Linked DNA regions of Homo sapiens: all the other regions are linked to region 3. Evidence: promoter capture Hi-C in human tissues and cell types (Jung and others, 2019). All regions are on one chromosome and are shown on one strand. The core of a region is centred on a gene start or on the middle of the fragment in contact, and the rest is flanking DNA. Distances in the headings are between cores, read along the strand shown.

Region 1 (4,563 bases), core at 786-3,285, 100 kb before region 3:
AGTAAAACTCTTTGGATGCAGAGGAACAGGGAGAAAGCGAGGAGAGCCAGGAAAGGAGGGACAGTGTGGAAGGTAAAACATCTCAGTATTCACAACCAAAGGAAGGAAGGGACGTCTGGGATGATACCAACACCTCACTGAGGACCACCATGTGTGAACTAAGCCAAGTGATTTACACCCAGGCTCTCACTTGGTCCTTCCTCACTGTGGATGACAGACTCCATGATTATCCCCATTTTACAGGGGAGGAAACTGAAGCACACAGAAGCTAGGGAACTAACCAGGGCAGAGCAGGGACCTGAGAACAGACCAAGCTCTTGTCCCAAACCACTCTGCTACATTGCCTCCCCTGTTCTTAGCAGGCTTCCAACTCATTCATTCAGTCACTCAACACACACGCACTGGACATGTCTGCTGTGTGCCAGGAACTGAGATGGCTGCCAGTGAAAAGATGAGGACATCAGATCCTTGACCTCAGAGGGCTAAGCCTAAACTCAAATGCCTTTAGAAGCCAGGCAGGTAACATATATAGGTGAAGGGGAGCAGCACCTTAATAACAATGGCAACAACAACAGACATAACTAACATGTATTGCATGCTTGCTTTGCGCAACCCTAATTTAATCTAATTTAGTCCACACATCAGCCCTATGACATAGGCCGTAGCAGCCTCCCCATTGTCTAGATGAGACAATAGAGGCATCAAGAGAGTGTGTAATTTGCCCAAGACCACACTGCTCAGGAGAGCAAAGCCAGGATCTGAATGGAGACAACATGACTGTGAAACCCACACTTCTAGTCACATCACTCCCCGCCTGCTGGATGAAAGACAGCCACTAACTTGGCCAAGCGTGGGGGTTCCCGGGGAGAGGTGGGAATGGCAGAGAACTGGAGAGCCTGTGCTTATGCTCAATCCATGGTGGCCACAGTTCCACAACGCCAGCCAACTGTGGGAACACAGATCTAGTGTTGCCAAATCTTCCCGTTTTTAAAGAGAACCCAAAAATCTCTCTCTATATATACATATATATATATATATATATATATATATATATATATATATACACACACATATATATATATGTGTGTGTGTGTGTGTGTGTGTATATATATATATATATGTATATATGTATATATATATGTATATATGTATATATATATATATGTATATATGTGTATGTGTGTGTATATATATATATATATATATGTATATATGTATATATATGTATGTATGTATTTTTTGAGACACAGTCTGGCTCTGTCACCCAGGCTGGAGTGGTGTGATCTCAGCTCACTGTAACCTCCGCCTCCTAGGTACAAGCAATTCTCATGCCTCAGACTCCCCAGTAGCTGGGATTACAGGCACGCAACCACCACGCCTGGCTGATTTTTGTATTTTTAGTAGAGACGGGGTTTCACTATGTTGGCCAGGTCGGTCTTGAACTCCTGACCTCAGGTGATCCACCTGCGTTGGCCTCCCAAAGTGCTGGGATTACAGGTGTGAGCCACCATGCCTGGCCCAGAAATCTATATTTTTATGTGAAATTCTGTAATTTTTAAAGATTGACAACCAATACAAACTGAGAATACCATGAGGGCCCAATACAACATGTCAGGGGGCTGGTGTGGGCCAAAGGCCTGCTGGTCTGTAAGCTGGCTCTGGTGGGAGGGTGAGCTGGACGGACCCTGCAGCCAGGCTCCATTCTCAAGTCAGGAAGCCCCATGGCAGACTGCTCTGTGGGGAGGAGCCTTCAGGCAGGACAACTTAACTTGGACCCCAGAGAGAGGTGGACCCAAAGCCTCTGGCTCATTCCACACACCCAGCTCCCTGAGGTGCTCACACAGGGGTGAGCGTTGTATATGTCTTCAAAGTCCCAGGATAGAGGGAGTTGGCAGCTCTGAGCTCTACATATGCAATGAGAAACTCCATGGGGCCATTATCCCCTCTCTAATCACTAACAAGCTTTTGGCTCCTGAGCCAGGCCCCAGGCTTCTGTGTCATCATTTCTTTGGCACATCAAAGACAACAACCAAAACAATAACTTCTCAGGCCGGCTGCGTGCCTCCATGCCCGGCCGTCCAAGACAAAGTAGAGAACAGCATTTTGTTACGCAGCCCAGTGGATAACTAGGACGCCCTTTTCCTGATAGGAAATGCTCTGTCTGAGCCTCCTAGAGCAGCCCTCATCACCAGCCAAGAGGAGCTGTCCCTTTTACCATGAAACAAGGTGGGATCTGGGAAGAAACTGCATCTCATGGTTGCCAACACACAAAAACAGGTTTTTATCCAGAAGGAACTGGAAATCTACTGAATCTCTAAACCAACAGAGCCGGGGAAGCTGTGGGTAAATAAAGACCCCTGTGATCCAAACCCCCAAACTAGGCTGGTTGTTGCAGTGGGAGTAGAAAGGATACCCCACCATAGGTGGATTGGCTACCGAGTAATGGACAAAGAGCAGCCCCCAGACCTCAGGCCTTCCAGAGTTCTCCAGTGCCTTGGACTTTGGATGCTTTTCTTCCTCTGGGCTCCCATGCCTAGCACCCACTCACCTGTACACCCAGTCAGGCAGACAGGAAGCCCACTCCCCAGGGGAGCTCCAGCCCTGGGGGTGGCCCTATTAAGTAACTGAGCAATGGACTCAGGAGTCAATGGACCACTGGAAGCTTTCTCCACCCATGTTCCTGGCACAAACTATGCTAGCCCCGGCTCCAGCTCCTCCCAGGAGCCTGGGCCTTAAATAGCCAGAGCAGAGGCCTCTAGCCAGAACCCGTGGTCGCGGTCATAAGCACAACTGTCCTTGAGCCTGAGAGGAATCCTAGGAATTTTCCCAGGAAAGGCTTCGGCTCTGGTCCCAGGATTCCACAGCAAGCCTCTAAGCCCAGGTCAGAGGTTACGGGAAATAACCAAGGAGACATACGTGGGAGGGTGGGGGTGGGATGCTGCTACCCGGGGCCAGGAAGGAAGAATAGAGGCAGGATATACCTGTCCCAAATCAAGAGGACACCTGGGAGCCAAAGCATCTTTCTCCTACAGTGGCAACAGAAAACTTGAGAGAAGATTCAAGCAAGGATCACCCGCCATGGTCCCAACATGACGGCAGTCAAGGTAACAGGAAGCCAATCATCCTCACAAGGCCAGTCCTACTCCACCCATCCTGGGAAGAGAAGGAATTTTGGGAGCAAAACCATCCCCTGACCCCAATACTCCATTCTCTCTGTTTCTCTGTCTCACTAAGAGGCACTGTCTTTCCTTTCTGCACACAGCCAGCCAGGCTGGAGCTTATTAATTTGGGATAGTGTGTTTCAAGCTTTTCCCATCAAAATCAGATTTCCAGGAAGCTAAGAGCACAGTTACTGGTAGCTGGGCCAGTACTCGCCACCCCAACCCCCAGGCCTAGGACAGACACATTCTTGGCCTTTATTGTGCTGCCTGAGAGGGAGTGGTCTATCCCACCACAGAGGAGATGGGGAAGGTGCTCTGGGCTGCAGAATGTACTAGAACTCCAGGCATTCATATTTTCTTACTTAGCTCAGGGACTCCAGTGGCAGCCACCACTGCCTTGTAACAGGGAAAGCCACGAGTGGTCTGGGTATCACTGGCAGGAGAAGGCAGCCTCTGTTTCACAGCAAATGAAACCCTTGGAGGGAGAATGTGGGCAGCAAAGGTGCCCCGCCTTCTGTCCAACCCCACGATGGATGCCAGTGCTGGAAAGGGACGGAGGAATGCATGGGCACCAATACGGGTTGGCAGAGGTATGGGGGTGGCACTGCTATACTTCTCTGCTGCTTGTCCATTCACTCCAACACCAGGCAGAATGTCAGGTTTGTACCCAGGCCCAAGAGCCATGTCTGGCAAGTGGGCTTGGGTCCATACCCACAGCCCCTCCTGAACCCCAAGCATCAGGCAGCCCAAGCCCTGGAGCCCCCTCAGAAAACAGCCAGCCACCTGCCAGCAGACATGGGCCCCTGTACCTTCCTCTGCTGGTTCTGTCCCTCTAATCTGACCTCTAGGATAGGGAACACCTGAAAGCCGTGTATCCTGAGGAGAATATCTAATTTGCCCCAAGAACATGTAGGGCAACTGCACGCAGAGCCAAGATGCCCCCTGCCCCGTCCTCCGCTGCCTCTTCCCAGCCAGTTCTTTCAGGAGCTCTGAAGGTTCAGATGGCTCCAAAAGAAGCCAACAGAGTGCCCCAGCTCTACCACAAGGGCATGGAGACCTTGGGAGGGCGTCTCCTCCCCAGGCAGATGTGTCTCCCTCCTGCATGCATAGCTCTGCATCTGGTTATCTGGCAAAGCTTTTGCCTTGGGGGCCATGCCTGGGGATCCTGAAACCCAAGCTGGCAGCACAGAGGCAGGAAGGCTGGGGAGGCTGCAAGGGACACACAGAGGCCAGCTGGCCCTCAGGCCCTTTGCTCTACCATCCTGCAGCTGCTCGCCTCTGGTAGCTGGACTTGAGCCACAGAGACATTCGTGGTAGTTACTGCCCCAAATATAATATATGCTTCCACCTAGCCCATCCGAGGGCTCAAAACGCCAAGGTATCCACCCTCTCTGTCATCTCT
Region 2 (4,741 bases), core at 1,898-4,397, 65 kb after region 3:
ATTTCTAGCAAAAATACAAACGTTAGCCGGGTGTGGCCAGACATGGTGGCTCACACCTATAATTCCAGCACTTTGGGAGGCCAAGGTGGGCGGATCACCTGACATCAGGAGTTGGAGACCAGCCTGGCCAACATGGTGAAACCCCGTTTCTATTAAAAATACAAAAATAAGCTAGGCGTGGTGGCGGGTGTCTGTAATCCCAGCTACTCAGGAGGCTGAGGCAGGAGAATCGCTTGAACCCGGGAAGCAGAGGTTGCAGTGAGCAGAGATTGCGTCATTGCACTCCAGTAAGACTCCATCTCCGAAAAAAAAAAAAAAACTAGCCCGGCAAGGTGGTGCACGCCTGTAATCCCAGCTACTCGAGAGGCTGAGGCAGGAGAATCACTTGAACCCAGAAGTCAGTGGTGGCAATGAGCCGAGATCATGACATGGCACTCCAGCCTAGACGAAAGAACAAGATTCCTTCTCATAAAAAAAAAAAAAAACTTTTGAAGAACAGAAAAGTAATCTGCCTTTATAAAATTAAGTTCCAGCTGGGCACAGTGGCTCAGGCCTGTAATCCCAGCACTTTGGGAGGCTGAGGCGGGCGGATCATGAGGTCAAGAGATCGAGACCATCCTGGCTAACATGGTGAAACCCTGTCTCTACTAAAAATACAAAAAATTAGCCGGGCATGGTGGCAGGCGCCTGTAGTCCCAGCTACTCTGGAGGCTTAGGCAGGAGAATGGCGTGAACCCGGGAGGCGGAGCTTGCAGTGAGCCCAGATCGCGCCACTGCACTCCAACCTGGGCGACAGAGCAAGACTCCGTCTCAAAAAAAAAAAAAAAAAAAAAAAAAAATTAACTTCCACAGTCCAGCAGATTAGCTAACATTCGTATTTTGGCAGTTTATGAAAATATTATATTCCTCATAACTCAATGTTATAGTTAGAAGCAGAAACAAAAATTTAATGAAAAAAGTGATACCCAAATGACTGTCTATAACAACAGAAAAAGAAATCAGACTGATACTGAAGACACATTTATTCAAACATACTAATAATCTCTGAAACTTTGTAAACTAAGTAGCAAATGGCAGTGAGAAGAAACAAAAGCATCTATGAAATATTCATTTTTTATTGATATCACACTTAAAGAACACCTAGGAAAAATCAAACAATGCAAATTGAGTTACAAAATTCTAATTTAATTCAAAATTCAGAATGGTGAAGTACCCGCCGATGGTTAGTAGCACAACTAGGAAAATAGAGGTAAATGTATGAGCCAACTCAGACCACATTTTTAAGAACACAGGACAGCAATAGGAGGTGGGTTGGAAAACGACTTTTAGGGTGCTGGTAATGCTCTATTTCTTGATCTGAGTTGTATGAAGCTGTTGATGCTGTGAAAATTCTTCAAGCCATAATACCTATGTTGTGTATTTTTCTGTAAGCATAATATACTCCAAAGAAAAGTTTATCCCCAAAAAATATCTTCTATGTAAAGGACAGGAAAAAAATGTTAAGTGGTATTCATAGTAATTCTTTTCTAATATAAACATTCAAGTGTGAAACATTTTAAAAGCAAAAATGTCATGCTAATGGGAAAAAAACATTCACAGAAGGGCAACTTACAACTTTGTATGGCTCTGCAAAGAGAGGAGAGCTAGGTGGGAAGGCGTCTTCGCCCTGCTGAATTTCCTGATTCCGCCTTTCCCGTTCTTTCATACGCAGCACATTCCGGTCTTCACGGTTCATGTTGCTATGAAAAGAAACACAATCTTTGTATCACAGAAATAAAAGGAAAAATTAAATATTCTGTACAGATTTTGTCAGCTTAACACTTCAATCACAGATTCCCTTTTGACCTCCAAGTAATAACAGGCATTAGTGCTGAAGCTGGGTTTTGGTAATGGTTTTATCAACAAATACCAATAGTGTCTTCCACAACTATTCCAAGGAAACACTAGCCCAGAATATTAGAACCCACCCCAACAAAACACTTAACCTTATCAATGTTTGAAGTACTCTGTTAGCTAAAAGCAAAAACTTGTACATTCAGAGGGAACGTAGTATTTGAACACAAATCCTCAGTATTTCCTTTTGGGCCCTCCTCTTCAGAAATCTGCCTATTCTTTGCCCTTAGAAGCATATAACCCACTCCCAACTACCACCCTTCCCCCCAGGGTCCAGTTCTTTTCTCTACTTTGCATCTACCTTATCTTGATTTCTTTTTGTCCCAAACACAGCTTCCTTGGTGTCCATCCTTACGGTAGTTTGACCTCAGCTTTGCTGTTGCTCTAGATTCCCTAAAAAACGACATTTCTGCTCTAAATATATTAATATTTCAATTAACACCTCAATAAATGGCAAAACCCAGGTTTTCAGTGATAGAATCAAAAATTAACTTGGATTAGTAACAGCAACTAAACTTGTATTGAAAAAGGAAGTCTTTGGAGTGAGGGGAAAATGGAAGTCCCATCTCTATAATCAGGACAGTTTGTCTTATTTTCACTAGAACAAACCAAGAGAAATACAGCCAATTTATAGCAGCAAGGATTTTGATTAAACAGACAATGGTAGTAAAGGCTGGCAAACTCTGGCACTAGGGATTACCAGGGAATCTGCAACACTCTTCCCTGGAGACAGATTAAATAATCAGACCTGGTTTTGTTTTTTTTTTTAAAAAAAAAGGCTCACTGGAGCCCAGAAAGAAACAATCAGGTTATATGTGTGGAGCATTTCTGGCCTATAATTCATAAATCAAATCAGAAAATTAAAGTTCATCAGAAACTATAATTATAAAATTAGAATTAGTAACAAAGCAGTATTATACTCTTTTTTTTTTTTTTGAAACAGAGTCTTGCTCTATCATCCAGGCTGGAGTGCGGTGGTGCGATCTCCCAGCTCACCACAACCTATGCCTCCCGGGTTCAAGCGATTCTCCTACCTCAGCCTCCTGAGTAGCTGGGATTACAGGTGCATGCCAATGGCTGGCTAATTTTTTTATTTTTAGTAGAGACAGGATTTCACCATGTTGGCCAGGCCAGGCTGGACTCCTGACCTCAAGTGATCCTCCCACCTTGGCCTCCCAAAGTGCTGGGATTACAGGCATGAGAGCAACCAAGTACTTTTGAGGACTTTAATCAGTGGTTAGAACTAGTGAAAGCAAACATTTAAAATTAAAACCTCCTGATTTGCATACTAAGTGTCATGCAATAAAAGCAATTTAACGGCCTGAGCGGCTCACGCCTGTAAACCCAGCACTTTGGGAGGCCGAGGTGGGCAGATCACAAGGTCAGGAGATCGAGACCATCCTGGCTAACACGGTGAAACCCCGTCTCTACTAAAAATACAAAAAATTAGCCAGGTGCAGTGGCAGGCGCCTGTAGTCCCGGCTACTCAGGAGGCTGAGGCAGGAGAATGGCGTGAACCCGGGAGGCAGAGATTGCAGTGAGCTGAGATGGCACCACTGCACTCCAGCCTGGGCGACAGAGAGAGACTCATCTCAAAAAAAAAAAAAAAAAAAAAAGGCAATTTAATGTTTAGAAAAAAAAAAAAAAAAGGGACCCGAGGTGGGAGGATCGCTTGACCTGCCTAGCCAACATGACAAAACTGCATCTCTACTAAAAATAAAATTTAGCCAGGTGTGGTGGTGGACACCTGTAATAGCTTCTCGGGAGGCTCAAGCAAGAGAATCACTTGAATCCAGGAGGCAGAGGTTGCAGTGAGCCATGATTGTGCCACTGATCTCCAGCCTGGGAGACAGAACGAGACCCTTTCTCAAAAAAAAAAAAAAAAGAATGTTCTAAGTGTTTCAGATATGTTTTCAAATTGTTTTGTATGTATACAATTTTCTAATAAGCTTAATGTATACAATTTTCTAATAAGCTTAAACAGGATTTCTTTGGTTTCGCTAATACTTAGCACTCTATAGAACTCTATTTCAATCTTTAAAGAATACCACAAAACTTAAGTATTCATAAAACAAAACCAAAGAACATATTATACTCCATCACATTTGAACCAAGTAATAGTTTTATATCACTAACAACCAGGCTTCAAATAGGCCTCTTGGGCTATGGTTCTGCCAACATACAAAGTTATTTATACCTGAGAGACTAAGGAATATGTTAACTACCAGTTTCCTTAAATTTAAATCCTGAAAGATCTGCAACTTCTTTTTTCTTTTTTTTGAGACGAAGTCTCGCTCTTGTCCCCCAGGTTGAAGTGCGATGGCACGATCTCGGCTCACTGCAACCTCCACCACCCAGGTTCAATTGATTCTCCTGCCTCAGCCTCCTGAGTAGCTGGGATTACAGGCACCTGCCACCACGCCCGGCTAATTTTTGTATTTTTAGTAGCGATGGGGTTTCACCGAGTTGGCCAAACTCCTGGTCTCAAACTCCAGACATCAGGTGATCTGCCTGCCTTGGCCTCTCAAAGTGCTGGGATTACAGGCATGAGCCTGAACTTTGGCTTAAGGCCAGGAGCGGTGGCTTACAACTGTAATCCCAGCACTTTGAGAGGCCAAGGCGGGCGGATCACTGGAGGTAAGGAGTTCAAGACCAGCCTGGCCAATGCAGTGAAACCCCATCTCTACTACAAAATACAAAAAAGTAGCCTGCCGTGGTAGCAGGTGCCTATAATCCCAGCTACTCAGGAGGCTGAGGCAGGAGAACTGCATGAACCTGGGAGGCGGAGGTTGCAGTGAGTCAAGATCGCACCACTGGACTCCAGCCTGGGTGACAAGAGCAAGACTCC
Region 3 (4,387 bases), core at 579-3,078:
AGGGCTTCAAGCTCTTTCTTTCCTTGACTGTGTTATCAGCTTTACAAATTAACACCATGCTAGTTTGATCCTGCTAGAAGTACAGGAAGGCAGAAATGGAGGATTAGGAGAATTACTCATCTTTTGGATGAACAGTTTCCAAATCCCATTTGGCACATCACTCTAGACTGGTAAAGGGGAGGCTGACACTGAGGCCACAGACCCAACTGGCTCTAGGACATCACGTTGTTCAGTCCTTTGCTTATCTAATCATTTGTGTTCTTACCCAGTGCTCACTAGGTCACCCACATAGCCACTTCCCCTCCCAGCAAAAGTTCCCAGTTTAGGCACCTGTCTGGGATCATCCAGTATCCAAGCTTAGGGGTGAAGGGAGGGAGCAGAGAACTAGTCTCAACTGGTTCGTTGGTATATAGGTCTCTTCTCAATGTTCCTAAAGTGCATGCAGTGGCATCCCCCTCAAGGCCTGGCTCCATGATTCTGAGAGGACTAGAATCAGGACAGTCAGATCTGTGGTCACATCCTGCCCAATTCCAGCTCTGAGGTCCATCAAACCATCTGCTTCTCCCTTGGCAAGAAGCTCCCTCTGTCTGACTGGCAGCAGGGTCAGTGGCCATCCTTTTCTACCTTCAGCTGTTGTGCATCTCCTCCACGTTTTCCTGGAGTAAAGGAACAAGCAGGTTCTTATCCAAATACCCAACCTGTGAAGATGAGACGGCCCTTGGGAAGAGGTATTAGCCAAGTTTTCAGTATGATGCCCGGCAGAAAGAATTTGTTGTCTTTGTCTTAAGCTTATTATCCTCCCAGGTCATAGGAAGATCTAAAGTCCAATCAGTCTCCTTACTCAGAATTCACAGCTTTCCCCTCAAACTTAAAATGCCCATGTCATTTCACGAGTACCCATAACTACCCATCGTTTAGATACATGTCCTCCCTTGGTCTAGAAATCTGCAGCAGTTCCTACTTAAACTGATGGATGCTTTGGGCTTTGGAGGTATCTCATCCCTATGCCTGTTGCCCTGAAGCTGCCGGAAGGAAAGGCCCCACTCAACTACTGGGAAGAAAGCCCATAATTCAAGGCTTTTAATACAGTCACTACACAAGCTCTCCCTCTGATTTAGGAGATCTTGTTACCTCCTCATCTACATGTGCTTAAAAACAAAAAGAAACCTATAATTATTCAATTCACCTGTGGTCCAAATAAGTCTCACATCCAGCCATTCCCCTGAGAGGGCAGGAGGCCAGACTTTGAACTTTCCACAGCTGGGTCTTCATTTTACTAGTGAGATAAAGAGGTGCAGATTAGGGTGACAGTCCATCTAAGCAAGTGGACGATCTGGGGAACTGTAGGCCTTGCTGAAGCATCCTCCCACAGAAAGGAGATAAGGGCCTTATCCAATTGGCTGTACACAATAGATCAGTGCTTCTTTCCTAGACAAGGCTGAAAGGGGCCAACATTATTTCTGAAGACTTCATTATTGGAATTCTATGGGAGTGATCTCACTGAGCTATTTTGGAATAGAAATGTGGCTAGTTGCCTGACCTCCCTCAATGGTTTCACGTGGCTTTCAAAGGGAAGGAAGGGCAGTGCTGACTTTTGGTAAAATGGGCGAAAGGGTCCATGCCAGCAACACAATCACTCAAAGTCCAGATGAGGGATCAGTAAATACAACGTGCCTGAAAGGTGGCCCTTGAGCACATTCCTCCGGTAGACATTAACTTATTAAATTGATTCTGATTACAAATATAAACTTTGCCCCCATCTCACCCAGTAACAATGCAAGAGTTGATGTCAGTCTATAAAAGGAAGTAGGAACTGTCCCTGGCTTTCAGGCTCCAACATCCTCCCCCTGTCAAGATGTGGCACCTCAAACTTTGTGCAGTCCTCATGATCTTCCTGTTGCTGTTGGGCCAGGTAAGGAGGGAAGGATACTTATGTGTGTGTGTGGAGTGTGGAGATGATAGTGGTGGTGGAACTTGAAAGCTAGATTCAGTCCTGAGGAATGGTTCCTCTGTTCTGAGTCTACAGCATCTGCGGAATGGAATGATCACTCTTCCAAGGTGTGCAGCAGGGTGTCAACACTTTCATATCTGAATGTCTTTGCCCTTACAGATAGATGGCTCCCCAATACCAGAAGTGAGTTCGGCAAAGAGAAGGCCACGGAGAATGACCCCATTTTGGAGAGGGGTTTCCCTCAGGCCTATTGGAGCCTCCTGCCGGGATGATTCTGAGTGTATCACAAGGCTATGCAGGTACTCCCTGAACCTGGGAGCAGGGTTGGGCCAGAGAGCCCTGGGAAGCTGGGCAGAGGAGTGACAAGGGGACACATGAACCTAAGAATAAAGCTGGGATGGAGGAGTTCTAGACTGAGACTGGGAGCTCCATGGAAAATCCCTTAGGAGTTAGGAGCCAAGAACAGCTCTATGTGGGTACCATGAAAGAGTGGTGCCTTTCCATTCTTCAGTCTTTCCTGAGACTGGACAGATCAAGCAAAGAGGAAGGAAATGCAGCATAGGTGGCCCTGGTCATTCCTAGACCCAGTCTTAAAAAACTACCCTTTCTTTTCCCCTAGAAAAAGACGCTGTTCCTTAAGTGTGGCCCAGGAATGATGTACATACCAGGGAAAGAAAGGACAGCAGTCACCTCCGACAATGCTCCGTTCTATGGAATATTGATTAACTGCATTTTGGCTGGAGACACCCAAGTGAAGCAATCTTGTATTTTTAATATTTAAAGGCAGATGTACGCTTTAAATTGGTCTCCATTTCTTCTTAGAATGTTGATATATGGATAAGCATAACTAAACTTGTCAATTTAGAGTTTATTTTTCTATGGATACTATTAAATGTCTCAAATTGAAATTTTAGCAGTCTGGAATTCAAGCTTTTGAGGGAAAGAAGGATTCATTTTGTATACTAAAGAAAAAAACAGCATTGCCCAATAATGTGTTAACTTCTCAATCTGGAAAGTGTAGTGAGAGCTACATAATCAATAGCTACGTAATCAACTTCAGCAAGTTCCTAAGCTGTGGCCCTGGATCCCTTCACTCCATACTCTTCAGGGAGGTGTCAAAGGTGGTCAAGCTTGGGAGGCTGAGGCAGGAGAATCACTTGAACCTGGGAGGTGGAGGTTGCAGTGAGCCAAGATCATGCCACTGCACCCCAGCCTGGGTGACATAGAGAGACTCTGTCTCAAAAAAAAAAAAAAAAAAAAAAGATGGTCAAGCACTTGCCATCTAATGAAGCACCCAGGTTTGTCTATGGCTGTCTGAAGATAAGGCAGAACAGAGAGAAAAATCTAGTTTAATAAAGCAATGAAAGCCCAAGCCACCAAAAGCACCAAAAGAGATTTAAGATTTCTGTTGGGACAAGGTGAATTTTGACATATGCACAAGGACCCATGGCCAGCAAGTTCAGAATTTCTGTAATCAGAAAATGAGACCTCAGCTGGTGGGAACAGACTTTTAAAGAGTAGTAACGGACCTTAAGACACAAAACAGGAATTGCATGAAAAGGGCTCAGAGTTGAAGAAATATAAAGAGTACAGTGTTCAGTAACTTTAATACAGAAAATCTATTTGATATTTATTAAACTTAGTTTCTCCAACTATGGTTTGGCATTGTACAAAGCATCTTAATGACACAGTAGAGTTAAAAAGATCTTTACAAATTGAAATGTGATACCCTTGTCTCCAAATATTTTAATTGCCATAAATTTGTTTAAAAATACACATTAAACGCATGTTTGACACTCTAAACTTTCTATACTCTCAATACCACAAAATACATATAATATACTATACAGATGTGGAAAAATCTAGTTAGTATATAATACTTTGCTCACCATTAACAGCTTTATCGTGTGAAATGCACATACTGACTTAGAAATCCTAGCTTTTGAGCCCCAAAGTACCTCTGAAATTGTAATGTATTGCAACAAATAAAAATCACAGTATATAATTGAAATTCTGGTTGAAAATGTCAGATGCCTAAATATTTTGGATAAAAGAAATGTAAAACAAAGATTTGGTTCATGTACAAAACAAAGGCATCCTTATCAGTCACTAACAGTACCTTTCTGCAAAATCAACAGGCTTTTAATTTATCAGTGACATTATCTCCCCTCCAAAACCCTCCCCAAATATCAAACAATTATATACCAAATAATTTTAATTTCAAATAAAAGGATTTTCAATAAATATATAAGCATTTCCATCCTCCATATACAAAATTTCTTAAAACCATTCAAAACGGAGGCTAGATAGAAATTTTCATAACTGTGCTTACCAACCCCACAACTGGCCCTTAAAGGTGGTGCCTTTTCAGGCAATGTCAACTGGCCAGTTCTGTTGGTGAGCCCCCTACCCCCACCCCACCCATCCCAGTACTGT

Evidence for each region. Contacts are between HindIII fragments. The study calls those that stand out against the background at their distance.
Region 1: a fragment that was not itself captured here is called in contact with the fragment with the promoter of LEAP2 in region 3 in 3 of the 25 tissues and cell types used here (dorsolateral prefrontal cortex, mesenchymal stem cells and pancreas).
Region 2: a contact is called between a fragment that was not itself captured here and the fragment with the promoter of LEAP2 in region 3, in 2 of the 25 tissues and cell types used here (mesendoderm cells and thymus).

The regions. Positions count from the first base shown.
Region 1 is chr5:132,768,961-132,773,523 of GRCh38, forward strand. All of the region lies in intron 1 of SEPTIN8 (septin 8), which reads right to left. Among named protein-coding and RNA genes, the nearest start is that of SEPTIN8, 6.0 kb to the right of the region's middle. The HindIII fragment of the contact is 3,532 bases long and covers 270-3,801 here.
Region 2 is chr5:132,935,455-132,940,195 of GRCh38, forward strand. It overlaps AFF4 (ALF transcription elongation factor 4), which reads right to left. Exons shown (of 21, transcript NM_014423.4): 2 at 1,613-1,739. The coding sequence starts at 1,735. Among named protein-coding and RNA genes, the nearest start is that of AFF4, 26 kb to the right of the region's middle. The HindIII fragment of the contact is 3,062 bases long and covers 1,617-4,678 here.
Region 3 is chr5:132,871,840-132,876,226 of GRCh38, forward strand. LEAP2 (liver enriched antimicrobial peptide 2) reads left to right here and starts at 1,829. Exons shown (of 3, transcript NM_052971.3): 1 at 1,829-1,912; 2 at 2,111-2,250; 3 at 2,571-3,207. The coding sequence starts at 1,856. The coding sequence ends at 2,607. It overlaps AFF4 (ALF transcription elongation factor 4), which reads right to left. Exons shown (of 21, transcript NM_014423.4): 21 at 3,556-4,387. The HindIII fragment of the contact is 2,304 bases long and covers 1-1,834 here.